6 separate regions of the Homo sapiens genome follow, and all the other regions are linked to region 1. Evidence: promoter capture Hi-C in 16 types of primary human blood cells and fetal thymus (Javierre and others, 2016). All regions are on one chromosome and are shown on one strand. The core of a region is centred on a gene start or on the middle of the fragment in contact, and the rest is flanking DNA. Distances in the headings are between cores, read along the strand shown.

Evidence for each region. The method cuts DNA at HindIII sites, captures the fragments that hold promoters and counts their contacts. A CHiCAGO score of 5 or more calls a contact.
Region 2: a contact is called between a fragment that was not itself captured here and the fragment with the promoter of PTGER4 in region 1, in 1 of 17 cell types (total CD8 T cells). The highest score is 5.2, in total CD8 T cells.
Region 3: a fragment that was not itself captured here is called in contact with the fragment with the promoter of PTGER4 in region 1 in 4 of 17 cell types (endothelial precursors, naive CD8 T cells, total CD4 T cells and 1 more); the score reaches 5.5 in endothelial precursors.
Region 4: a contact is called between a fragment that was not itself captured here and the fragment with the promoter of PTGER4 in region 1, in 1 of 17 cell types (activated CD4 T cells). The highest score is 18.4, in activated CD4 T cells.
Region 5: a contact is called between a fragment that was not itself captured here and the fragment with the promoter of PTGER4 in region 1, in 4 of 17 cell types (activated CD4 T cells, monocytes, neutrophils and 1 more). The highest score is 7.0, in activated CD4 T cells.
Region 6: a contact is called between a fragment that was not itself captured here and the fragment with the promoter of PTGER4 in region 1, in 2 of 17 cell types (activated CD4 T cells and endothelial precursors). The highest score is 6.6, in activated CD4 T cells.

Annotation. Positions count from the first base shown.
Region 1 is chr5:40,678,272-40,681,480 of GRCh38, reverse strand. PTGER4 (prostaglandin E receptor 4) reads right to left here and starts at 1,566. Exons shown (of 3, transcript NM_000958.3): 1 at 1,003-1,566; 2 at 1-530. The coding sequence starts at 487. RefSeq lists an enhancer at 21-548 and a silencer at 1,684-1,903. The HindIII fragment of the contact is 6,362 bases long and covers 1-3,209 here.
Region 2 is chr5:40,320,208-40,323,871 of GRCh38, reverse strand. All of the region lies in intron 1 of LOC105374736 (a long non-coding RNA gene), which reads left to right. Among named protein-coding and RNA genes, the nearest start is that of LINC00604, 82 kb to the right of the region's middle. The HindIII fragment of the contact is 8,266 bases long and covers 1-3,664 here.
Region 3 is chr5:40,190,609-40,193,950 of GRCh38, reverse strand. No RefSeq gene overlaps it. Among named protein-coding and RNA genes, the nearest start is that of LINC00604, 48 kb to the left of the region's middle. The HindIII fragment of the contact is 1,316 bases long and covers 1,372-2,687 here.
Region 4 is chr5:40,277,524-40,280,861 of GRCh38, reverse strand. No RefSeq gene overlaps it. Among named protein-coding and RNA genes, the nearest start is that of LINC00604, 39 kb to the right of the region's middle. The HindIII fragment of the contact is 2,734 bases long and covers 272-3,005 here.
Region 5 is chr5:40,261,371-40,264,988 of GRCh38, reverse strand. The region is part of intron 2 of LINC00604 (long intergenic non-protein coding RNA 604); the gene reads right to left. Among named protein-coding and RNA genes, the nearest start is that of LINC00604, 23 kb to the right of the region's middle. The HindIII fragment of the contact is 3,828 bases long and covers 1-3,618 here.
Region 6 is chr5:40,208,191-40,211,351 of GRCh38, reverse strand. No RefSeq gene overlaps it. Among named protein-coding and RNA genes, the nearest start is that of LINC00604, 31 kb to the left of the region's middle. The HindIII fragment of the contact is 1,834 bases long and covers 394-2,227 here.

The DNA.
Region 1 (3,209 bases), core at 317-2,816:
GCCGCGAGCTACCGAGACCCATGTTGGGCAGCGCGCAAAAGAGCACGTTGGACGCATAGACTGCAAAGAGCGTGAGGCCCGCCAATCGCTTGTCCACGTAGTGGCTGTAGAAATAGGCATGGTTGATGGCCAGGTAGCGCTCGACACTCATGGCGCAGATGATGCTGAGGCCGGACAGGCTGAAGAAGAGCAGAATGAAGGTGCTGTACTCGCACAGCGGCTGGCCCCCGGGCCATTGGCCCTTCATGTACGTGGCGATGGTCACCGGGCTCACCAACAAAGTGCCCAACAGGTCGGTGACAGCCAGCCCACATACCAGCGTGTAGAAGGTCGTCTCCTTCTGCTCCTTGCGCGACTTGCACAGCACCACGATGGCCACCAGGTTGCCCACCACCCCGAAGATGAACATCACCGCCGGGATGGTCACTGGGCTGTTCAGCCGGTCGGGGCTCAAGGAGGCGGACGAATTGACCCCGGGAGTGGACATGATAGTGGCTGGCGGTGCGCAGCCTTGGAGTGCAAGGCTGGGTCTGGGGATGGTAGAAGAGAGACAAAGCTGCCGTGAGCGGAAATTACCACTTGTAAGGTGTTAGACCCGCGCCCGAGAAACGATACACTGATAAGACAAGGGGAGCAACTCGATCCTACTTTCTGGATTGTAGCCACTTACCAACTGCGGCCACCAAAATCTCCAGGCTCGCGATACGTCCTGCCAACAGCACACTCTTGCTGACATTAATATTTATAAACTGATTTTCCCATTCCTCTTCCTCCCCACAATCCAACTCACTCCATTGCCAAGATGAATAAGACCCATCTCAAGGGAAAAGTAGCTCGCTAGTGCTATTCTCGATAGATTCTGAATCAATAAAATGCTCACTGAAAACAAGTTACAAAAGCAATTTGGAGAGCGCGCTCTTCCCTTCTTGGCTCTCTTCGGCGAGGGCCGCATCCCTGCGTTCTCTACCCGTTGACCCCAACGTCAGCCCAACGCCATCTCACCTGTAGCGGCAGCAGCGGTGGCAGCCTCACGAGCCCCCAGGGTCAGCCCTCAGATGTCCTGGACCCGCCTCCAACCTGCTTTCACCTTGTCCTGCTCAGTCTGGAAACTGCCAAATCTTCGGCTTCTCAAAGCCGGTCTCAGTGGCTGTCGATTTTTGGACACCGAGGTCAGAGTTGCCAGCTTTCAAAAACTTGGGAAACAAGAGGTGCAGCGGGATGGGTCAGTGAAGAATGGTGCTGGATTTCTTACTCGCTATTTTTTTTCCTTCAAAGACGAGTCCCAGCTTTGCAGTGCCCGCCGGTCTCGTCTGCGGGAGGACAGCGTTCAGGTGTGAGGCTGTGCGCGCAGGTGGCGCGGAGCCTTGGTCCCCAGCTCTGGCTGCCCTCCGCCCCAGCCACGGGCAGCACGGGCGGCTACTGGAGTTTGCGGCTGCCGCTGAGGCCGCTCCTGGCTACCTGGGGGCGGCTCGGGGTCCACTCTGCCAGAGGCTCTGGCCTGGGGCTGTTCATCTTCCTCTCGGGCTGCCGGGCTTGGAGCTCCGCTCTCGCCTTTCCACCCTCTGTACAAACTTTTCTCCTCCTCCAAGTTTCCCTGGCGGAGGCGGAGGCAAACCGCGCGCTGCCCGGGCGCCCATTGGCCGGATTGGAAGGGGGCGGAGCGCGTCCTCCCTGGGCGCCGCAGGGAAGACTGGCGGGGGGCGGTGTCTGGGCTGGGGCGGGGCTGGGCGCGCGGGGTGGGGCGGCTCCCGTGGTTTTCACGCCCTCGGAGGTGCGGAGTGGGAACTCGGAGGGGACCCTGGGAAGCCCCGGTGCTTTCCCCGGCGACCGCTTAGCCGCTCCTGAACTCGGCTTCCAGTGGGGCCACCACTGAAACCGGCGACCGTTTCCGCCTCGCTGCCTGCCGCTCGGAGTGTACTATTTCTTGAACCTCCTGTCCGCGGGCCGCAACATCTAGATCGTGGAAGAGAGGGCAGTTGTTTTAGGATTCTACCTAGGGTTGGCCGAGAAAGGAGAAGAAATACGGTGTCTGCGCTAGCGCGTGCGCCCCGGGGTTAGACTTGGGTGCGCCCAGCGGACGTGGTAGGTGGGTGGGTGGGTGGGTACCAGATTGGGCGGGGAAATAACGAAGAATCCATCCTCTCACCATAAAAGGAGTTGGAGTCAGTTGGCAGTGCCCAGACTGCGGGCTGCGCTTGGTCGGGCACCCCAGGCAAAAAAGAAAAAAAAAAAAGAGAAAGAAAGAGGAGGAGACAGTGATTGCAGCCTCTCCCGGCGCAGGTGGCAGAGCCTTGCGGCTTTGGAGAGAGGTGGAGCCTTGGTGAGGTTGGGAGGACTGCCTAACTGCGATCTTTTTCTCCATTCTTCCTCCTGGGAACTTCTCCGCCCTGAAAGGGTAGCGTGAGCTTCATGCCTTCGGCCGGCCGTGTTATACTCGTTAGACCCAATTCACCATGAATCCTTTGAAAGACTAGTGGAGAGTGAGAAGGGGGTTTCAAAGTCACTGGAGTAAAGGAATTCTCCAAGCACCACCTCATGATTAATTCTTGGAAAAGCCTGTTTGCGCGGCCCTTAGAATCATTTTGACTTCTTGTCTAATGGTGAAGTTTTTCTCTGTAATCCTTCTACTCTGTTTTCTAAAACCAGAACTAAAAACCTAAAAAATTGTAAAACTTCATGGTGTAATTAAAACCCCTTCACCATTTTTTTTAAGTAAGATTGTGTGGCCTTATTGCACAATTTAAATTCCTGGAAAAACCTCTTCCCATCTGCAGTGTACAAGCATTCTAACATATTATGTCTCCTCACAGGGTAAGTAAATAACTGGATTCTTTTATGTGATAAGCAGGTACCCATTTCTTAAATGTTATTTCGTGAACGAACAAACCTCCTAACTGGTTCTTCAGTTAGTCTCAGCAACACATGGGTAATAAGAGAAACTAAAAGGGCTTTCCGATTTCAAGTAATTACAGGTCATAAAATATCCAGAATCATATTTACTTGCAAAAGGCACTATATGGATATACTAATAAAGAATTATTCTGTTTATACTATTTACTTAATAATATGAGAAAGAAAAATACACATTTGTTAGCCAATATTAAGATTGATGGTGATTGGTCATTTTCTTAAAAATCTTCTTTTAATCAGTACTCTAATCACTTCTGTTGTCGATGCTTCCTTTGAACAGTAACCTCTAGGATTGTGTC
Region 2 (3,664 bases), core at 909-3,408, 360 kb after region 1:
AATACTTTGGTGGCAATGCGAAAGAAGATAAATGGTTATTAAATGTTGCATAAAACAAAGAAGTCAGGCAAAGAATGGGCAGAAAAGTGTGATTGGTCAGTGGTTGCAAAAAAAAAAAAAACCCAGTTGCAATTACTACAGGCATTTGACTCTGAAGACCTCAGCATGTCTCGAGTACTTACTTAAAGGACCCTGACCTTTGATGGCCAGCTTTGTGAGTTACCTCTTTCCACTACAGATTTAATGTAATTTAGTATCTTCTTAACAATGTCTTTGTCAGACCATATAAGGTATGGTTTGGCTCTGTGTCCCACCCAAATCTCATGTCGAACTGTAATTCCCATGCGTCAGGGGAGGAACTTGGTGGGAGGTGATTGGATCACAGGGGTGGATTTCCCCCATATTGTTCTCATGATAGTGAGTTCTTAGAAGATCTGAAGGTTTAAAAGTGTTGCACTTCCCCCTTTGCTCTCTTTCTCCTGCTGCCATGTAAGTAAGACTTGCCTTGCTTCCCCTTCTCCTTCAGCCATGATTGTAAGTCTCCTGAGGCCTCCCTGGCCATGCAGAACTGTGAGTCAATTAAACTTCTTTTCTTTGTAAATTACCCAGTCTTGGGTATTTCTTTATAGCAGTGTGAAAATGGACTAATACAATATGTAACAAGTTTTAATAATTTGTTAGGAGCCCAGAAAGAACCACAAAAGTTTAAGAACTCTGAGAAAGAAGAAAACTAAACAATAAGTAAAAGTAATTCCTAGAGTGCACAGAGGTATAAATTAATAACAACAAATATAGATCAGATAGTATTATTTTGACAACTTCACTGTCTTCATATAACTTCAGAGAAGCCAGGCTGATATCTAAAATTATTTAACTTATGCGTGTAATCCCAGTGCATTTGAAGGCAAGGTAGGAGGGTGCCTGGAGGTCAGGAGCTTGAAATTGAATTGGGCAACACAGTAAGACCTCATCTCCACAAAAAATAAAGAAAGTTAGCCAGGTGTGGTGGGGCACCTCAGTGGTCCCAACTATTTGGGAGGCTAAGGCAGGAGGATCACTTGAGCTCAGGAGTTTGAGGCTGCAGTGAACTATGGCCATACCACTGTACTCCAGCCTGGGCAATAGAGTGAGATTCTGTTCAAAAAAACCCCACAATTATTTAACAGATTATAATTGTTGCCTCCAGGGTGTACTCTGAAGCTGATAATAAAATGCCATACCTTTCACTCAGTATGTCATAATCAGAAAGCTCTGTAAAAATACAGATCTTAAAATATTATGTTTATGACCACTGGGGTATAGAAGCCAGGGCATAGGCATGTAGATAGATATTGTATTGGTCCCTTGAAAGACTACTGTAGTTCTTCTCTTATATATTCACATCTTGCACAAGTGGAGTCAGTTTTTATTCTGTTTTAGATTATGTAATTTATGTTCCATTGTGTAATGTTATTTCCTTACATTATTAGTAAATCCAGTATTTTGACCAACCTGTCTTTTTGTCTTTTTTAAGTTGGTTGTCTGCCTATCTATAAAGCCATTCTTCCATCTTTAGTTCTTATCAAATCAGTCTTTTCTATTTGATGCTGTTTTTAAATGATTCTTTCCTAATTTTCTCTAGCTTTTCTCTGTGCCAATAAGTATCTGATCTAAAACTCAATGAATGTTCCAATATAAATTGGTGATATTCTTAAATACACTTAATTTTCTGGAAGTTAATTCAATAGTTAACTCTTTATTTACAGATATTATCTCAGACAAGTGCTTTTCCCCCCTAGTCTCCCTAGGTGGTGCCAACAAAATTTTTCCTCACTCAAAATCCTGTAGATTGATTGTCTTCTTTTCAGGTTGCTGACTTTCTTTGCAGCTGAGATTCTCTGTGAGATGTCTACTAACCATTAGTAGAAAACTAGTGATTTTTGTTACTAATGTAATTAACAATTGTTCAGAGACTTCAATTTACTTCAATTGATGAAAGATGACCATTCCATAACCCCTGTGGGATAACACTCAGAATGTGAGTATGACCATTCTATAACTATTGTAGGATAGCACTGAGAGTGTGAGTTTACCAATTCCAGTTTTATTCTAAACTGAGTCTCTGTATGATTTCATGTCTTCAAACAATCAGTTGCTAAGATACCCTTTGTCAAACAATCCAGTAATTCAATAGGGAAAAAATAGTCTTGTTTTTGCCAAGTCAAAACAGGTGAACTGTTCCAAATAAAAATATAAAAGATTATGAATCCATGAACTCTTAACCCCTAAAATAATGTAGAAAATTGTGATCTGTGAATGTATGCATTTTCCAGGGAGAGGATTTTTTTACTCTTATTAGATTGTCAGCTCCTTGCACAGTGCTTGACACATTGTTAAATCTGAATAAATATGAGTTGACTGAAGTATGACTAAGTAATTCTAAAAATGATTCCTTCATTATTAAAAAGGAGTCTAGGAATGACCAGAATTACTTTTTTTTTCTGTCAATTTTCCTCTCTAAAAATCTTAGTTTCTCCTTTTTGATTTTCTGAGGAGGTGACTACTGGACGTTCTGAATCCTTCATGTTTCTTGACTTTTCTTTCATACTTTCTAATTCTTTATCTCTTTATGATATATTCTGGAAAATTCCTTTACAATATTTGCTGGGAAATTCATCAATTCAGACTCCTAGCTCACCAATCCACCTTCAGCTGTGTTTTTTCCCCTGCTATTCATATTATTGAAATGTTTTAATTTTGATTTCAATACTATTTTCTCATGGTATTTTTTTCCCCCACTAGCCTGATTTTATTCCTTAGATTTGATGACCTCTTTCTGCTTATCACTCATCCAGGGATTCCTAATGGTTTCTGGTCCATGGAGGTTCCTTTTCTTGATTTTGAATGTAGTTATGGTTTGAAAAGATAATTTGATGTCATTTTTAGAAATCCAAGATGATCAGGCCTGAGGGAAATGATACATGTGTGCCTACCCTCTTTAGGTAGAAGTCCTTACTTTTTCTCCGAGTGTCTTTTGAAGCCAGTTACCCCCCACTTAAAAAAATAGTATTTCTTATTATATTGTAAAAATCTTATGGAAACGTTGTTAGGTCTAAAAAAATAAATGAAACCCATAAAAACTAAATCACACTGTTAAATATCGCTATTAGTGTTTTTGATAAATATCTTTTTATTGAATGAGACTTTCTTATTTCTTGTATGTTCAACTCATGGGATGGAAGCAGGAGATATCCATGAGCTGAGAAAAACACACTTAAGGTTAAATTCATGGAGGAGGACAATGTAATGTAATTTGAAAGGAAATAAGATTCTCTTTAGCCAATTGATATCTGAAACTTATGCTCTTAGAGCTGGGAACATGAGGCATAGCACTGGAGATAGCTGTTAGAAGGTAATTGACTTTCTCAATGTGTAGTGTCTGTGATTATTATTATGTTTGTTGCTGTTTTTATTATTGAGACAAGGTCTGGCTCTATTGCCCAGGCTGGTGTGCCGTGGTGTCATCTCGGCTCACTGCAACCTCCACCTCCCAGGCTGAAGCCATCCTCCCACCTTGGCCTCCTGAGCAGCTGGGACTACAGGCATGTGCCACCACAACCAGCTAATATTTGTATTTTTAGTAGAGACAGCATTTTGCCGTGTTGCCCAGGCTGGTCTCAAACTC
Region 3 (3,342 bases), core at 780-3,279, 490 kb after region 1:
ACTTACGTGCCAGCTGTAGCATGTCACTTATTTGGAGTGGACAAAGGTAAAAGGCCAAGGACAGTAGGAAAGTATCCTAGTCACCAATATTCATTCAGATGGAGTCCTACTTTGAGAAATTGTGATATAATCATGATAACAAGAACTATCTATATATTTACTTGATACTCACAGTTTATAAATCTTTTACAAGTATGTTAAATCAGCTTATACTCACAAAAGATCTACAAGGTAGAAACAAATAGCTCCCTTTTGTAAGTTTGAGATGGAGGCTCATAGATGTTAAGCGATTTTTCTGTGCTTACACAACTAATATGAGTTGGGATTTGAATTTAAAAAATGACTCCTTAATTACAGTAACTTTTTCTTCCTTAATTTTATTTCCTATAATCCATCTGTCATATAATACTTAAAATTTCACTTTAAGAAACAGCTTCTGTCTAGATTGACCAATACATTATTTTGACCCTCGGGCAAGGCTGCAAAATTCACCTTAAAAATGTCTGTTTCTTTTGGTATGCCATTTCATGTGAACTCTTTTTTAGTTCCTCTTCAATGCTTTTCACAGCTTCCTACCTTTCATACTTCATAGTCTGAAAACCTGGTTGATTCCCACCCTCAATGTCTGGTCTCTGGCCCAAGAGCCTAAGCTCTCCTGCACAAATGCAGGAGAAACTTTCATCTTATACGTCAAACACATTTTCCCCAAAAATTTATAACAAAAAAATCCTAAAATGCCATGCCAGGAATTATTTTTTTCTTATGGCTCCATTTTATGCGAATGTTTTTGAGTAACATCCTCAAGAACATTAAGTCGAGGAAGAAAAAACTGCTGATCCATTTACACTGGTTCAGCCAGATCAGTAAAAGTTAGAACTGATGGTTTGTTCACATTGCTCGTTTTGATGTTCATAATGGCTGAGATGATGACAGTTCAGACTCATAGGATCAGGAAAACCCTACAAACTAGATCGCTGACATCCGAATCAGGAATCAGGAAACGTAGGGACTTATCGCTAAATTTTACTGTTGAAATATATCTGAGGGATAATTTTGGTAAATTTCTGGATCGTATGGATAGGAAATTAAATTTCAAGGTCACAAACCCACACATTAATCTCAGGCCATTGATTCTGAGCAAAAGTATTCTTCAGTGTCCTAAACATTCATGTTTTTCCCAAGTATCATAACTGACACAGACTCCTTAAACATTTTTATACTGCTGTGATCAAGTTATTTTATTTTCAAGCCAAAGCTATGAGTGGGCTTAAATCACAGAAGCACATCAGAATTCTAGAGTGAGGGAACCACAACTGGGCTGAGAACAAAGAACTGGAATACAGTTAAGAGAATGATTTGTCCATTTAAGCTTGGTGTCAAGGTGAAACATTTAATCCAGAAGCTGGCTGGTAATTAAAGATCTAAGCACATTCAGAAAAACACAGAGGTGAGTTTTTAAATTTTGGACCTTCATCCAAAGCAAAGGCACTTTAGGCAGTACAGTGTAGTTGTTAAGAGTTTTGATCTTGGAGCATGACAGCCTCAGTTTGAAACCAGCATTGTCACTTAATAGCTACATGGAAAAATTGCTTTTTCTATGTCTCCTTTTTTTTTTCCTAATTCCAAATAGGAGATAATAAAACTACTGAATTCAAACACTTCTTATGAGAATTGAATGATTAAAGGGTTTGTAACCGTGCCTGGAGGATAGTAAACACTAAGTGATTTCTAATAAATACTATGCCAGCTAATGTGTACCAAGATATTCATTGTAGCACATTTGTAGAATTAAAGAATGAGAAATAATATAAAATACTTTATACTTTATGGAGGATTGGTTAAATAGATCACATTATACCCACACCAAAAAACATTACATTGCTGTTAAAGAATGTGAGGTGGCTCTATAGGTACCACTTGTGCTATATGGAGAAGTAAATTTCTTAAATTAATCTAACAGGATGGTATAGTTTTTTACTGACATATTTAAAAATATATGCTATGCCTGTGTATGCCCCAGAAGTTTTGGCATTTTTTACGCCCATCTGTTGAATGGTTTCCCTTGAGGTCTGGGATTTTGGCAGGGGCAGATGGTGGCAGAAAGGAACCTTGGAAGAACCTTATTAACCTTAGCATTTCCTTTATTTGACTTTAACATTTGAATTATTTTTCAACTGGCAAATTTATTTTTTAAGAATGATATGTTCTATTAATAGTAAAATCTAGAGTAAAAAGAATGCAGTAGTATCTGAAGTAAGATTATGAGAAGTCAGAGGCAAGGAGACCTTAATATTAACTGCACCTGTAATATCTCCAAACCCATCTTGGAAGCTCACCCACTCTCATCCTTAAGAAATAGCTGGACTTGTGTTTCTTTCAGGTCAAGAGAGCACTTAAGTGACATTAAATAACCTGTTAAGAGTAATGCTTCTCTTCGTATACCAGGAAGTACATTCTGGAAGTGGGGACAATCTAGTTCTTATCCATTTAGTGTGCTTATGTAAAATGGCTTCTTCCACCTCTGAAATAACAACACAGCTAGACTTATTTACTTAGCCCTGGCTGCATTTTTCCAGGACATTACCACACAATTGGAGCCTGACATTAATGTGATTTATTGATAAGTTCATGACTGTTGTGCTCTCTTTGACATTGGTGGAACATAACAAATGAGAAACAGGAAAGCTTTAGTTCTGAGACAGTAGTGAGTTGCAGTACGAACCTGTGATCTGCGTAAGGAAAGGAATCTGGTTGGGTGCTTGCAGGGCTTTGAAAATTGGAGCATAATTGACTTCTCGAACATTACAAATTAAGTAAACAATTCATTTGTTTATAATTGTTTGTGAGTAGTCTAACCTCAGCTGTCCTCTTTGGTAATGCTGTCTGCGTCAGTTTGAAGCACATCTTGTGATGGATTAAAAAAGTATGTCAGATAATATAAACCAGAAGCATGGTTTTATAGAATCATTCCTGTCCTGAATTTACCTTGTCTCCTAATTATTGGCAAAATTAAAGATAAAAAAGAAAATCAGCAGAGGCAGAGAAAAGAAAGTAAAACTTTAGTCTTGTTCTTTTCTATTGATTCATTTATTGATTATATTTACTTAATTGTATGTAACAAGAACAAATAATGCCTACTTATCTTTGCATTTACCAATAAAGTTAAGATGTTGTGATTTTCAAAGTGAGATTTTAAACAGATCATGAACAAGTCTCAAGGGTATTAAGTTAATTGACCAGCTGATTAGAAATGATTCCATAATCTTAGCTGTAATGATGTAAAGACTGCTTAAAATCACTCACATCTTGTTATTTCATCAATAACCTTGATTATCTCTCTCC
Region 4 (3,338 bases), core at 389-2,888, 400 kb after region 1:
ATTTCTTTGACACCAGCAACCCAGGCCACAGTCCCAGTGTCGTAGGAGCCACTAAATCATGTCCTACAGCTCTCAGGCTCCCAACACTGAAAAACAGTCATAAATCACGTGAGTGGTTCTGGGTGGATGGAGATCACTCTTTGCCACGACTGATACAGAATATTATCTAAAGGCTTGTTTGACGTTTGTTTCTCTTTCTCTCAGGAGTTTACCTTAGGATCCAGGGTTCTTAGCATGGATTTTATAAATTGGCTTCACAAGTTCTTAAGCTTCCAGAATTCTGTGCATGTGTAGGTCTATTTTTTTTTCTCTAGAAGAAGATTCTGATTCTTAAAGGGGTTCAGAGACTACCACAATAGTAAGGGTTGTTAATTTTTGATACCCACATAGATTTGACTTAAGCAGAAAATTTTGTACCTGTTTCTCTCCTTTTTCTAGGAGCGTGGGGTAGAGAGTCTGTTTTTACAAAGTTATTCTTGGTAAAACACATGTGGAGTTGCCACATTTGAGTTAAATATTTTGATATTACCACATATGTTTCAAATCATTAACATAACAAATTAAGGACTATAATTTTTTTGGCATTTGTTATTTTAAAATAGTTCCCATAGATCTCCAAATTATCTTTTGATGAATTTTAGTTTCATAATATAAAAAAGATAGTGTTTTCTTAACTTATATTTTTTGATATGATTCCAGGCCCATTACCAAAAAGAAGAGCTTGTCTGAGTCATTCCAGGAGAGGCTGACCAATTTTTTTCATAAGAGTTTTTAGAGTATTTTTAAATTTTCAATTTTATATTTAGCTTTTCTGTTCATTCTCTGCTTATACAACAACTGACTCCAATTAGATTTTATAGAGATTTATAAAGCAGACATGTATTTTTCGTTTTTTGTCTTCTGATATGTATTATCCACTATATACTTCAAATTATTTTTTAACCAAACGAAACACTGACTGCAGAGTCCTGCCAATTATTTCATTTTCTCATAATGCTTCAGAGCACATACAGAATATTTAAATAAAATTAAAAGTAGCAATTTATTTATTTATTTGAGACAGAGTCTTGCTGTGTTGCCCAGGCTGGAGTACAGTGGCACCATCTTGGCTCGCTGCAACCTCTGCCTCCTGGGTTCAAGTGATTTTAGTGCCTTGGCCTCCCAAAATGCTGAGATTACAGGTGTGAGCCATTATACCCTGCCAGAAGTAGCAATTTAGTTGCAATAGGAGACATTGAAAAAATTTCAGATGGTTGTTAGGACTTTGTGTAGCTTTCATAAAACAAAAATTCTTCAAACTGTGTTAAAGGCAGCTTCAAATTAAACACTAGATTATTTAACCAATTTTTGTATTGAAACTACTAGCATCTTTTATGGACCTGCAGTAACCTTTTGACATATTATGCTAACTTTTGTTTTTTTTGGCTTGATTTCAACAGTACATAATTACATTAATGTGGGTAATAAATTATGTGAGAAATATAAAAGAGATTGGAATACATTTTTAACCTAAGTCATCTTTCAAATTTAGTTTTCTTCATTAAATACAACTTTTGCTCTCCTGTTCTTATGTAAAGGAGGAAAAAGTTGGGTTGTGTAAGGCAACTAGAGTGGAGAATTTAGTGTGGTTGGATGTTCATCGGGTTTTCTTAATAACTTCTTCTTTCCCAATTTACGAGTGTCCATTAGTTCAGGAATTGAGCAAACTCTCAGGGGAAGAAAGTCGGGGAAATTATTAAAAGTGATGATCCCTTCTCCTTCCCTTGGCATGACAGTCATTTCCTTTCCACACAGTGTGTTCAAATGACCAACTATGGAAAGTATGTTTAAATAGCCGACTGCTCCCTGTTGAGTCCTGTAAAAAGGGAGAAAGTGTTATCTAAATGGAGCGTTTCTTTATTTAACTGTCAATTATGGATGGGAAGTGGATAAGAGAGAGAGGCAGGGATAACAACTGTGGAGAAAGTGCTCTGCTAGGTTCTTCTAACCCAAACCAGCAGTGCTGCAGGTGTCCAGCATGCCTCCTTCCTCCCTCAGCCTGGATAGGCATAGCTCCTTCCCTGTTAACATCATTAGGCCTCTCCATTGCTCACTGGAATAGCAGAATCTAGGTACGTTTGCACCATCTCTTTGGTTTTCTCTTTTACCTGCCTATGCTTCACCCCTGTTTACTTCCAGAGTTCTCTTTTCCAGTCACTCATTCTAACTCTAAATTCTTGCCAATTTCCCCTCCTCACTGACTTGGGTTTTCCCTTTTTGCAGCATTCATCACTTTCTGGGGAAGTCTTGTAAAAGACTTTGGGGGAACATTTGAGGTTCAGGTAGCAAGAAGCCCAGCAAGGGGAGAGTGTGTCTGTCAACAGAGAGATGACAGATGAAAACCATCTCACTAGCTGTGGGGCATTAACACAGACCAAATAAAACAATGTGCTGTCTGGCTGAGCCTGGTCCATGAGCAGAGCCTGAGCTAAGCCAATTTAAATGACTTGATCTATATTCCTGAATACTTACCAAAGGTGGCAGATTGAAGGTGAGAATCAACAGCTATAGATTTGGCATAATGTAGGATGAATTTGCAAGATTACCTGTTCATTGAAAGTCATTGACTAGGAGACCCAGATTGCATTCTGGCTGGTTCCAGATAAATTTTCCCATTGTGGGCTTTAATTTCCTAACCATAAAACAAAGGCTATAGGGAGAGGTAAAAGCGCTGGTTTCTAAAGTTCTTTTTTTAAAATTTAATTTAATTTTAAATTTTCAAAAATTTTAGGCAAATTTCACTTGGATGGTTTCTAAAGTTCTGAGCTCTAAAATTTCATGATTTTAGGACAATTTTGTCAAAATTTTCTGTTTTGTTAGCTTGCCTCTGTATTTAAAATTCCACATTCAGAGGTGATTTTGTAAAACTTATGTTGGGGAGGGACAATAAATTATGGCAGTATTAGCAGAGGAATAATTTTTATCAGGAAGCTAGCTACAGAATGCAGCAACGTGTAGGTGAAGCTTGGAAAAAAATTGAGCTCATAAAGTACATTGGCAGGGGATGATTTCTCTATAATAACCTGAGCCTCAAGGTGCTGGGTGTTGAGAAATGAGTAGAAGGCTGAGAGATGGAAGTCCCCAAGGCCAAACCTATATTTATGTTTTTTCAAAAAGTAGTGTGATGCTGCAAGGAAATGGAACTTCCAGACAAAGTTGCTGTGGCTTAGATGACTCACTACAAAGGTACAACGATCAGTTTCCCCAGGATTTATGCTACTTCTCGGAAGAGAGAGAATTTGTAGAAAAAAAGCTGATGAAAATTTAGAGATCTGTTCTATAAACCTAAGAGAGGAAGG
Region 5 (3,618 bases), core at 551-3,050, 420 kb after region 1:
TAAAATATATTTATTTCTTTTTGGATTAGTCAGAATTTTGATTGTTCCAGTTTTTGCTGTTATCAACAAAGATGTCGTGAATATTCTTGTCCATGTCCCTTACGCCTATGTGTGTTAAAGTTTCCAGGAAGAAACTTACGTGTTCATAGGAAAAATGCATTTTCAACTTTATCAGCTAATGCCAAATCCAAATTGTTTACCAAAGAGCATGTACCAATTCACGCTAATCAGTAGCGTAAGAGAAGTAAAATAGCCTCTTATTGCCAGACTTCTAATTTTTTTGTCAGTTGAATGAAAATCAACTAGTGTCATATGATTGTTTTAGTGGTAATTGTCCTGAATTCTTTAAGTTTGAGTTGCGTTTAACATATTTATTAATACTTTTAGTTTCCTCCCCATGAATAATACTGACCTTTTGGTCATTTTATTTGCTTTAGATCACTCTTTTATTACTTATTGATTTGATCCTTATTCTTTATATAGTAATCTAAGTATTAATTCTTTGCAATTTGTGGATAAATATCTTTTCCTGGTTTATTATTTGTCTTTTATTTTTGTTTATAGTTCCCTATCCTACTCGATTCAGTAAATTTGAATTTATCAATCATTCTCCTTTGTTTTGTTCTTTTTTCTCATCCAAAAAATATGTTACTACTCCAATTCATAAATTATGTTCTCCTATATATGCTTCTGAAATCTTTAGAATTTTAGTTTATACATTTGTTAATAACTCACCTGTAATATGTTTAATGTTTGGTTTTTATGCTACTTTTTTCATATGTTTTACTTCCACACATATTACAAACTACATAATGGATTATTATTTTTGCTTTAAGTGGGTAATTATTTTTTAAAGAAATTATTAACTAAAGTCTTTCATACTTGCCATTTCTAATGCTCTTCAGTTCTTTCTGCAGACCTGTGTTTCTATCTGGTATCATAACTTAAAGCTGAAGTACTCTCTTCACCAATTTTTATAGTGCCAATCTGCTGGCAATGAAGTCTATCAGCTTTGTTAGTCTGAAAATGTTTTTACTTCACCTTCATATTTGAAGGCTATTCTACTGAATATAGACTTTTAGGTTAGCAGTGACTAAAAAAATTTTTTTTTAGCTCTTTAAAAATACTGTTTCATTGTCTTGTGGGATGCATTACTTCTCATATGAAGTCAGCATTCATTCTTATTTGTATTTTTCCCCTTTGGTGCATTCTCTCTCTCTCTCTCTCTCTCTGTCTCTCTCTCTCTCTGTCTCTCTGTCTCTCTGTCTCTCTCTCTCTCTCTATATATATATATGTTACAGACACACACACACACACACGGAAAAGCCAATGGTGTAGCTCTGGTATGAGTCTGAACATTTGACAATTAGTTGTGCTGATGGTGTAAGTCCCAGTCTAAGGGCAGGAGAAGACTGATGTAGTAGTTCAAGCAGTCAGGTGTAGAAAGAAAATTCTCTCTTCCTCTACCTTTGTGTGCTATCCAGGCTCTCAGTGGATTGGATGATGCCTATCCACCTGGAGAGGGATATCTGCTTTACTCAGCATACTGATTCAAACATGAATCTCTTCTAGAAATACTCTCACAGACACACCTGAAATACTATTTAACCAAATACCTGGGCATCTTGTGATCCAGTGAAGTTGACACATGAAATTAGCCATAACACATACCCATTCTCTTTTTCTTCTCTTTGGTTATATTTGAGGTTTTCCTCTTTCCCATATCCAATCTAAATCCCTTCCTTCCTTCCTTCCTTCCTTCCTTCCTTCCTTCCTTCCTTCCTTCTTCCCTCCCTCCCTTCTTCTCTCTCCTTCCTTCCTTCCCTCCTTCTTTCTCTCTCTCTCTTTCTTTTCTTTCTTTCCTTCCTTCTTTCTTTCTTTTCTTTCTTTTTCTTTCTTTTCCTACCTTCCTTCCTTCCTTCCCTCCTTCTTTCTTTCTTTTCTTTCTTTCTTTCTTTCTTTCTTTCTTTCTTTCTTTCTTTCTTTCTTCCTTTTCTTTCTTTTCTTTCTTTTTTCTTTCTTTCTTTCTTTTCTTTCTTTTCCTACTTTCCTTCCTTCCCTCCTTCTTTCTTTCTTTTACTTTCTTTCTTTCTTTTCTTCTTTTTTCTTTTGTTCTTTCTTTTGTTCTTTCTTTCTTTCCTTCTTTCTTTTCCCTCCTTCCTTCCTTCCTTCCTCTTCTTTCCCTCCCTCCCTCTCTCTCTCTTTCTTTCTTTCTCTATTTCTTTCTTTTTTCATCTTCTGTCTTTCAAAGGAATTTACCCTGTTGGTTATATTGCTTTTGAGAATTAACACTTTATTTATTTTATTTATAATTAATTAACACATAATAATTATATATATTTACTGGATACAATGTGATGTTTCAATGCAAATACACATAGTATAATGACCAAATTGGGGTAATTACCACATCCATCACTTTTAACATTTATTATTTATTTTTTGTGACAATATTCAAAATCTCTTCTAGCTATATGAAATAGGCACTGCATTGTTATAGTAACCCTGTTGTATTTCTTAATGATATTCTTACTGGCAGCAATTAAATATCCTCAGATCTATTCAACTCTTTAAAAAACACATTTTACCCCACCACCTCTTCCCTCTGTTATCTTAGTTTTCTCTCATATCCTAGCATATCTTTCAAGAGAGTTGTATCTACTTGCAGTTGCTATTTCCTCAACCCTCCACTCACTCCTTAACCTATTCCAAACTGACTGGCTAAAGTCACCAACCACCTCCATGCTACCAAATGCAATGGAGATTTAAAATTATTTATAAGTGTCTCAGCACAATATGACATCATCGAATACACCTCATTTATTTAAATGATCTCTTTATTGGTTACTGAAATAATATATCTTTCTGGTTTCCTTTCCTACCTCTTTGGCATTTAGTCTCTTGTCTTCACTGGGGGCACATTCTCTTCATATTGGCCATTAATTACTGGAATTATTTGAATTTCATTTGTAGATCTTTTTTCTTTTCATACTCTTTACTTTTATATTAGAAAATCTCATCTTTTGTTTGTTTGTTTTTTGAGAAGAATCTCGCTCTGTTGCCCAGGCTGGAGTGCAGTGGCACCATCTTGGCTCACTGCAACATCTGCCTCCGGGGTTCAAGCGATTCTTTTGCCTCTGCCACTGGAGTACCTGGGATTAAAGGCAGGCACCACCGGACCCAGCTAATTTTTGTATTTTTAGTAGAGATGGGGTTTCACCATGTTGGCTGGGCTTGTCTTGAACTTCTGACCTCAAGTGATTCGCCTGCCTCAGCCTCCCAATGTGGTGGGATTACAGGCGTGAGCCACTGCACCCAGCTGGGAAATTTTATCTTTAACCATAGCTTCAATTACCATGTACCTATTTTTTTATAGCTCTTGGATTTTTTTTCTCCAGTCCAGAATTCTTTTCTGAACTCCAGACACATATTGGACTATACACTCAATATTGTCCCTCAGATATCTGAAAATATTCTCAAACTTCAAAGGTACAATATCAGTCTCATGATTTTGTTACATCAAATATAATCCTTTTCAATTATTTTTTATATGATGAATGGGACCATTATTCATCCATTTTGTCACGTCCAAAATCTACTTTTATCTGCCCCCTACCC
Region 6 (3,161 bases), core at 61-2,560, 470 kb after region 1:
GACAGGGTTTCACCATGTTGGCCTGGCTGGTCTCGAACTGCTGACCTCAAGTGATCTGCCTGCCTGGGCCTCCCCAAGTGCTGGGATTACAGGCAGGAGCCACTGTGCCCGCCCTGCTTTGAGTTTTTATGGATCCTTTTTCCCAGATAGAAATTACTCATTTCTGAGAAGCTGTTGAAGCTATTTACAGGTTATTGTATTTCAATTGCCTCTCTTTTTTCTGTTTAATTTTACTATTTTTTATGGGAGTGATGCTAAAAAGACCTCCTTGAAGGAAACAATAGATTGTAGAGTAAATACAAAGCCAGTTATTCTGTATCCTCATTTCAGATGGGGATTGTCATACTTCAAAACTTAAGCAAGTGTAAGTGGATTTAGCTAGTATTTCAAGCTTCAACATGAAAAGAAGTTGCATCAGCTAATTGAAAATACATTATGAGTTATTGTTTCAATTTCTCAAGGCATCTCTACTTCCAGTAAGTGACTACAGATAACTGTTGAAAAATGTGCCTATCTTCCAGTATGCACACATATAATACATAACTTTGTGTATGCGTAGGCATGTATGTATATGTATATGTATACTTATTTGAAACATTCTTTTATATTCTAGTGAATAAGTTCATTGAGAAGAATGTACACAAAAGGCCCATGCTAAGGCAGCTATGTATACTAGTAATTCTAACAATTTGGAAAATCATTTGTTTCTGGTACACCTTTGGAGATAACTGAAGGTATCCAGAAAGCAGCAATCTGTGTCAAAGGCCCTGGATTCTACTGTAAACTCTGCCACTAACAAGTGGTCTTAATCAAGTAAATCAAGTAAATGGACTCTCTGTGCTTCAGTTTTCCATCTGAAAATTGAGGTTTTTAGATTAAATCTTCCCTAAAGTTTAATTTTGGCTTAAAATTCTGATGTTATAATGTGACATCAGTGGTTTTAATAAAATAACTGCATATTTCCTTACAACTACAAAATAGTGCCACAGAATATTCTAGATTTATAAAGAAGGATTAAGGTAAATTGAACTCTAATACTATTGTTGAGCAATAATAATTAAAAATGTCTAATCTTTACTGTATGATTACAAACAAAGAGGAAATAACATAACAAGTAGTATAGTTTCCATTCTAGATTAGCTAAAAATGTAATCCATTTCAAGGTTATGCTTAATTTATGAAATTATAATTTAAAAAGATGTGGCATCATATTCATACACTAGGCATCAAGCTACATGCTTTACACACTCATTTGACTTACAACCTTGTGGGATGGATACTATTAATATTTCAAATTTACAGAAAAATGGATAAAGGTAAGGATATGCAAATTATCTATAATCACTCAGCCAGTATATATTAGAGCTGGGATTTGAACCCAGGTAGATTGTCTATAGATCTCATGCTTTTAAACCATGCCTGTTCCCTGACACTTTACAGTATTTCATTGTCTATGATCTTTTATTGTTTTCTCATATACGTTGTAAATGTTTATACCATGGTTCTATCTAAAATACCTGATGAAAGTGTATTTTGTTTTCAATGTGCCCCAAGATTTACAAATTTTTATAATACTCTTTGTCTTTTCATATGGTCAAAGAAATCCTGGAAGTTAAAGTTAGTATTATTGTTATTTTTTATATGAAATAATAGAGACTCTGAGAAGTCTGCCAGGCTTTCATAACTAGGTCTTAGGGTTGGGTCTCCATATTTTAGATTCTATCTGCTCTTTGCTTTTCCATTGTACTACTTATATTATAAACATGCCATTTTCCATGGTTAGGATGAAAGAAACAAACATAAAATTTGTAAAATAATCATATAATTGCGTTTCTCAGGTATTAGTACATTTGACTTGTGGTGTGGTTTCCAATTATGTTGAAAGAAACAAGATTCTCTCCCTTGATTTTGGAAGATCAAAGCCTTCCTGCATTGGTTACTTTCAGAGATATTGAAATGTGTTCTGCAGGTCATGATAATAAAATGGTACTTATGTGGTTTTTTTCATTAACTATTTATGTAAAATAGAAGACTCATAGACTAAGAAGGATATTGAATGATTTTCTAGTTGCCAATTCAAACAAGTATGTAGTGCACAGTAGCTATGTTATACCCAAGTAACAGGTCAATTAAATGAGTGGAACTGCCAGTTGTTTGCACAGATTCAAGAGGCAAAAATCACAGATCTAGGCTGTCCTATTACTACAGGCCAGAGGTAATAAAAGCTTTCTGTAGTCAGTTGACTAGAATGTTCTGGAGTAAGTGGTTCAGTCCCATAGCTTCTCCATTTGCTTTCCTCTTGCAGTAGTGGCATCATTTGTTGAGTAGTTTACTGAAAGCTGACAATATGCAAGTCACTATGCTGGCAGTGAGAACTTTAAAGACATAAAAATACAATCCTTGCCCTAGAGGATCATTTAGTCACACACAAAAAAGGCCAATCAGCCAAGATATGCAAAGTCAGGGGGTTCAGGAGAGATTGTTTCAAAATAATCACATTGATAAAATAATTAATGTGCTGAAATGTATTGATGAGGTATTTACAAACTTTGGAGAAAACTTGGGTCTGAATTGTTAAAAAATGTACAAAGAAATTTCAGTAAGTAAAAAATTACGACAACTGTAATCACTAGAGAAAAAGCAAATATGCAGGAAAAAAGAGGTAATCACTATGTACTACTGGGCACAGCTGTGAATAGCATTTACATGTGCTTAATAATGTAGGAAGTGAATACTTATCTATCCAATATTGCAAAGTAAATGTTAGCAAGATAGAGAGAAAGCATGTGTCTGTAGATCAAATCATATCTGCATCAAGAATTACAATTATATTAAACATGTATTGAACCTTACATAATGAGATTTTGAAAAGCATTCTTAACAATCACTCTTCTTGTAGACATGCCCTGTTGCTTACTTTAGTCACTTTCTATGTTGATGTACTGCTATTAACTAGAATGTAATGTTTTAATGTGAAAATATACAGAGTTAGTAAAACAGCGAGCTACCAGCAATCACATATTTTAATGTTTTGACTAAATAATGTGGGAAAATATGAAAACAATATTTTGATAAGACTATCCAACAGCAAATAACAATGTATTGGTATTACTACTATTTTATAAGATGCTTTTGAATTAAAAGAGGTAATTTCCCTTATT